2 separate regions of the Homo sapiens genome follow, and region 2 is linked to region 1. The links are contacts of gene promoters, found by promoter capture Hi-C in blood cells and fetal thymus (Javierre and others, 2016). All regions are on one chromosome and are shown on one strand. The core of a region is centred on a gene start or on the middle of the fragment in contact, and the rest is flanking DNA. Distances in the headings are between cores, read along the strand shown. Region 1 holds the start of KNL1 (kinetochore scaffold 1). Region 2 holds the start of EXD1 (exonuclease 3'-5' domain containing 1).

Evidence for each region. The method cuts DNA at HindIII sites, captures the fragments that hold promoters and counts their contacts. A CHiCAGO score of 5 or more calls a contact.
Region 2: the fragment with the promoter of EXD1 here is called in contact with the fragment with the promoter of KNL1 in region 1 in 1 of 17 cell types (activated CD4 T cells); the score reaches 5.7 in activated CD4 T cells.

Annotation. Positions count from the first base shown.
Region 1 is chr15:40,592,954-40,595,662 of GRCh38, reverse strand. KNL1 (kinetochore scaffold 1) reads right to left here and starts at 1,414. Exons shown (of 26, transcript NM_144508.5): 1 at 1,271-1,414. It overlaps TRS-GCT4-2 (tRNA-Ser (anticodon GCT) 4-2), which reads left to right and starts at 1,757; the gene lies at 1,757-1,838. RefSeq lists enhancers at 935-1,254, 1,475-1,694 and a silencer at 1,815-1,864. The HindIII fragment of the contact is 4,787 bases long and covers 879-2,709 here.
Region 2 is chr15:41,229,416-41,232,211 of GRCh38, reverse strand. It overlaps EXD1 (exonuclease 3'-5' domain containing 1), which reads left to right and starts at 1,455. Exons shown (of 12, transcript NM_001286441.2): 1 at 1,455-1,733. CHP1 (calcineurin like EF-hand protein 1) reads right to left here and starts at 944. Exons shown (of 7, transcript NM_007236.5): 1 at 763-944. The coding sequence starts at 829. RefSeq lists enhancers at 1,101-1,160, 1,181-1,250 and a silencer at 1,371-1,430. The HindIII fragment of the contact is 6,181 bases long and covers 1-2,796 here.

The DNA of each region.
Region 1 (2,709 bases), core at 165-2,664:
AGGAAGCCCTGTTGGACAGCACTGCTTTACTGGCAATATCTAGAGTCAGTATCTTTTACAGTCTATTATTTAACATCGAACACATCATTAATACTACCATTCCAAACATTTTAATTCAATTTACATGTATTTATCATCTTGTAAAGATTTCCAGCCATTCGCAAAGTCAAGAATTATACTGCTTTGACCCTAACCTTTAATTACCAAAATTTTACCACATATTAACTCCCATCTGTAAATCATCTCTCCAACCAACGTCCACCTCAAATGCGGTCTTCTCCACAAATCCATCACCAAAAGCATCAAATAAGCTCTCCCTTTTCCGTGCTCCCACACCACTTTAGAATGTCCTATAATCTTTTACATTCTGTCTTGTATTCTAGTTATTTGTGTATATTAGTTATTTCCCTTTGTAAACCCCTCTAGGTTTGGGAATCATCTGTCCCCGGCCCTATCACAGGATAAGGAACCCAATAAATATCTACAGGATTCGACGGAAGTGAAAACATCAATTTTAATATCTAGACTGGAATAAGCTTCTGCTTTGGTCTTCATCCACATCCTTTATCTGTTAATGCCTATTAAACCTATCTGTAAAATTCCAATCGGCAATACTTTTTCCTCCCTCAAACTTGAGTATTTAAATAAACGTGAAGAATAAGGGCTTAAATCCTGAGGAATAATGAACAGAAGAGGATTTTTAAAAACTAATTTGCGCAGTACTAATATTGACTTCATTTGTTAAGGTTATTATACTTGCAGAAAACGAAAAATCTGTTACGTGCGGCCAGCACTCCGAGCAGACACCTTAAACCACGAAGAGCTGAGAATTTTAAAATCACTCATTGCTGTCACTTCATTTAGAGCCAAAAAAAGCTTAAGTGAGAAATACAAACAGCCGAGAGGTCCCTAGGGAAGAGCGGCAGGGGTGCAAGAAGAGTCCGCGAGCCCTGACAGAGGACGGCAGGGCGGGGCGGAAGAGGACGCCAAGAGAGCGACGGACAAGCAACCCGAGCCGGGTGGCCGGAGGGGCCGAGGTGCAGGCGGAGAAGTGTTAGGGAAGCGGGAGGCGGCACAACGTACAGGCCGAGGAGGGGAAAAAGGGCACAGTGTGCCCGGCCCGGGGCAGGGGCGTCTACTCGGCCCGGCGCTAACGGAGGCCGCCAGGCTGAGGGAGCGTACCCTACCTCCCACCGCAGGAACTTCAGGGCGCCCAGACAAAACCCGAAGCCTTCCCTGAAGCCCAGAACGAAAGAGTCATTCTCTTTACCTGCCGCGGCAAACCTCCTCGACAAATTTTGCGCAGACTTGTTTGGGGTCCACACGCTCTGAGTTTCCTTAGAGCGGAAACAGACAGCCGCCTCTAGCAGTCCGCTCACAACGCCCGGCTCGCCTCAGTGAAGTATTCAAATCTAACCGCCTAGGTGATGCGCACGCGCAAAGCGGCTCTACGCGTCGGCTCCGCCCCTTAGGTTCCAGACCAACCCTATTTCTAAGACTCCTTTAGGGAAACTACTTTCCCAGACTCCGTGCCAATTTTATTTCCTTCAGCTTTATCTCTTTTTCGACCGAATTTCCTCTGCCCCTCCCCAGTGGAGACCTCCCCCACAATCGTGGGAGCGGCCATCTTCTTTCGATTGCTTGCTATGGAAGTGATTGGACTTTGGCTTCCGTACAAAATGGCGGCTTCCATAACATTGCGTCACAGCCCCTTGATATTACTCCCTATAGCAATCAGGAAACAGTAACTTACCGGGACGAGGTGGCCGAGTGGTTAAGGCGATGGACTGCTAATCCATTGTGCTCTGCACGCGTGGGTTCGAATCCCATCCTCGTCGATGTGGTGGCTTACTTTTGCTTGTAACCAAAGTAAATTTGCAGAGCAGAATAAATTTTTTAATAACCAAAGTAAATTTGCAGAGCAGAATAAATTTTTTAATAACCAAAGTAAATTTGCAGAGCGGAAAAACTTGAATACTTATTATTTATTACTCAATTAATCTGGCACCATCAGTTTCAGGCCTGAAATGTTGAAATACAGTATTTGGAACGTTCTGACATCACAGATAAAGAAAAGGGAGGGAAAGAGACTTTCCAGGAATCAGAAATCATGCTGGATTTAATTTCTTTTTATATGGAGTTAACAACAGTGAATAGAATTCCACAATTATTACCATCCCATATGTTCCAATGCTGCTCTGTTCCAACTTTAACACAGCTCCTAACTGAGGAGTTTCAATTATTGTAGACTGTTACTCTGGGGTTTTTAACACCTGTCCTGATTATGAGATACCAGGTTTCACTTCAAAAGCTACCATGAGACACTTTATCCGGTATTTATTATCTACAGGCACCACATGTTTTACATGAATTACATCACTATAACCCTTGATCATGACAAATATTTTTATTACTCCATTTTACAGATGAGGAGACTGAAAGATTAGCTTGCCCGAGGTTATACAGCTTCTAAATTGAAGAAAGGAGAGTGTAACCCAAATCTACTAGACGCTGGCTTAATCACCCTTCTAATCTGTGCTGTAGATTAATAATTAGTATTTATCAATCCTACACTGTGCTGTAGATTAATAATCAGTATTTATCAATCTTTTGCAGTCATGGTTTACAGATTGTCTCCTCCACAAGGCTGTCTGCATTGCACCATGCTCCACAACACGGCCTCTGGCAGGTGCTTCAGCAAGGTTTGGG
Region 2 (2,796 bases), core at 206-2,705, 640 kb before region 1:
AAATCAGTTCCTAGTACAAATTCACACGGAGATTTTTGGAGCACATCCAATTTCAATAGCGAATAAAAAAGTACACCAGCATAGTAGAAATCAATACATATATGAGATTAGGACAGCAAGTATCGTCGTGTAAGTAAAAAACTGGTGGTCACAGTATCCGTGTTTTTTCTCTAGAAGTTCAGATTGAAAGAAGTCTCACAATCCCAGACCCCTGATTGTTTAAAGGTCTCCAGGCATCGGGTCATGTCTCCCAAAGCCTTACTACACGGTCTTGCTTTCTGGGTGGTTTTCCCAATTTGTGACAAGAACTTGTTTGTAATTTCCCATAGTTGTCAGAGGTTTTAGGTCCTTACCCAGAAACGGATTTTCTACAGAATCCATCTCGAGTTCCTGAATTTGCTTCTCGGGCTTTACCTACTGTTCAGGATGCCTCTTCATAGGGAAGGGTGGTGCGAGGCAACAGAAAGGAAAGGAGTTCGGGGACTTTGATGGGCAGGGTGCAGAAAAGGGGGGCGTCGACGCTCTACGAGTGATCAAGAGTCCCGATTTTGAAGGGAAGGACAGCCCCACAGTAGCTAGAGCCCCGCTCCAGGAAGCTGCAGCTGGAAGAACAGGTCTTCCAGCTCTCGGTCCCCAAACCTGGAGGCTGCCCAGGACCCCCCAACCTCACAGGCACCCGAGCTCCAGACCTTAGCGACAGCCGCCCTTGGTTGTGAGGCCAGCCTGAGGCGCCCGGCGTTCCCACCCCCAACCCGAACTCACAGCCGGTCTCCTTCTTGATCTCCTCGAGCTCTTCGTCCCGCAGTAACGTGGAGGCCCGAGAACCCATCGCCGTGCCGGGAGCTCCTCCGGGAGCAGCGGCGCCAGAAGAGACGGCGACAGGAGGGAAGGAGGGAGGGAAGGAAGGGCTAGGGGTCAAGAAGGGAGAGGGCAGTGTTTCCACTGCGGACCCGGGAGGGAACCCAGGGGTGGTGCGCTGGGGAGGGCGGCCCCGAGGACCCGCCAATCAGGCGCGAGGCAGCGCCCGGCTCAGGAGCCAACGTCAGCGTTCGAGTTCCAGCCCCGAATGAATCAGCCCAGCTCCAGCCCAAGTCCTGCTGAAGACGGACCCCGCCCCCGGAACCGCAGCTGCCACCGGCCTTAAAGGGGCGATGCCACTCGGTCGCTAACGACGCAATTAAAAGGGCAACGTCATTGACCAACAGTTTTACAACAAACTAACCTGCGACAGGCAGCGTAGTCTACCTTTTCTCACAGGAATCGAACACTAGGAATCCTACTCGATAGGTGGCACGGATTGCGGAGAGAAACTTCGCGTGGGGGGGAACCCTAGGGTGTACCCTTCGGGGACTGCACGCGCTCTTCATCTTTCCTGGCTGCCGTCCTCCTCCCGGCCGCAGGGGGCGCTGGGGAGCCGGCCTCGGGGCCGCGTGCTGATTGGCTCCTCGGGAAACAGACGAGACTGGACGTTGGGCCGGGCGGGCGTCGCCTCTGCGGCGTGTGTCCCCGGCGTCGCGGACCTTTCTCCAGGTTTTCAGCCTGTGATTTGATAACCGCCGCCGGGTGGCGTGGAGCGTCCCGAGACTTCTTCCTTCATTGCAGCCCCTCTTCTTTTAGTTCTAGACTGAAGTTCGAGGAACGCACCACTTGGCTGAAATTAGGATCCAGATTTCCCAAACTTCCTTCGGAGGAAAAAGCCCTAACGATGGAGGACAGTGAATTCCTAGCTTATGGTCCGCCATTTATTTGAAGTTCCTTATTTTGTCTTAAAAATGAGAAATTTTGCATTTTATTCTCATGGTGTATTGTTTGTTTTGATTAAAAAGGTAGGCCTGGCACGGTGGCTCACGCCTGTAATCCCAGCACTTTGGGAGGCCGAGGTGGGCAGAACACCTGAGGTCGTGAGTTCGAGACCAGCCTGACCAATATGGAGAAACCCCATCTCTAATAAAAATACAAAATTATCCGGGTGTGGTGCCGCGTGCCTGTAATCCCAGCTACTCGGGAGGCTGAGGCAGGAGAATCGCTTGAACCCGGGAGGCGGAGGTTGCAGTGAGCCGAGATCGCGGCATTGCTCTCCAGCCTGGGTGACAGAGCAAGACTCCGTCTCAAAAAAAAAAAAAAAAAAAGGTAAAAGCCACCCGTTAAATTAGTGCCTACTCTCAGGTGAACCAGTTCTTACTGCTTCACCTGCCTTACCCCTTCACACCTGTTTGGTTAGAACACGTATAAGATAAGGAAGAACCGAATTCTGACTGCTGTTAGTACCCAAGTACCAGGATATTTTTGTCGTAGCAGGCTTTCCCAGGTCAACTTAAGTTACTAGTTTTAAGTGTTACCTAAGGCTTTACAGCTTAGCCTGAGGCCCCACACGTTCCCTGCAAGCTGAGGTTCTAGTTTGAAGAACTAGAGTTTTGTTTGTTTGTTGTTGTTGTTGTTGTTTGAGACGGAGTTTTTGCTCTTCTGCCCAGGCTGAAGTGCAAAGGCGCCATCTCAGCTCACCGAAACTTCCGCCTCCCGGGTTCAAGCGATTCTCCTGCCTCAGACTCCCTAGTAGCTGGGGTTACAGGCATGCGCCACCGTGTCCAGCTAATTTTGTATTTTTAGTAGAGACAGGGCTTCTCCATGTTGGTCAGGCTGGTCTCGAACTCCGTATCTCAGGTGATCTGCCCGCTTCAGCCTCCCAAAGTGCTGTGATTACAGGCGTGAGCCACCGCACCTGGCTTGTTTTGTTTTTTTGCGACAGAGTCCGGGCTGGAGTGCAATGGCCTGATCACTGTGCATTTTCGGCTCACT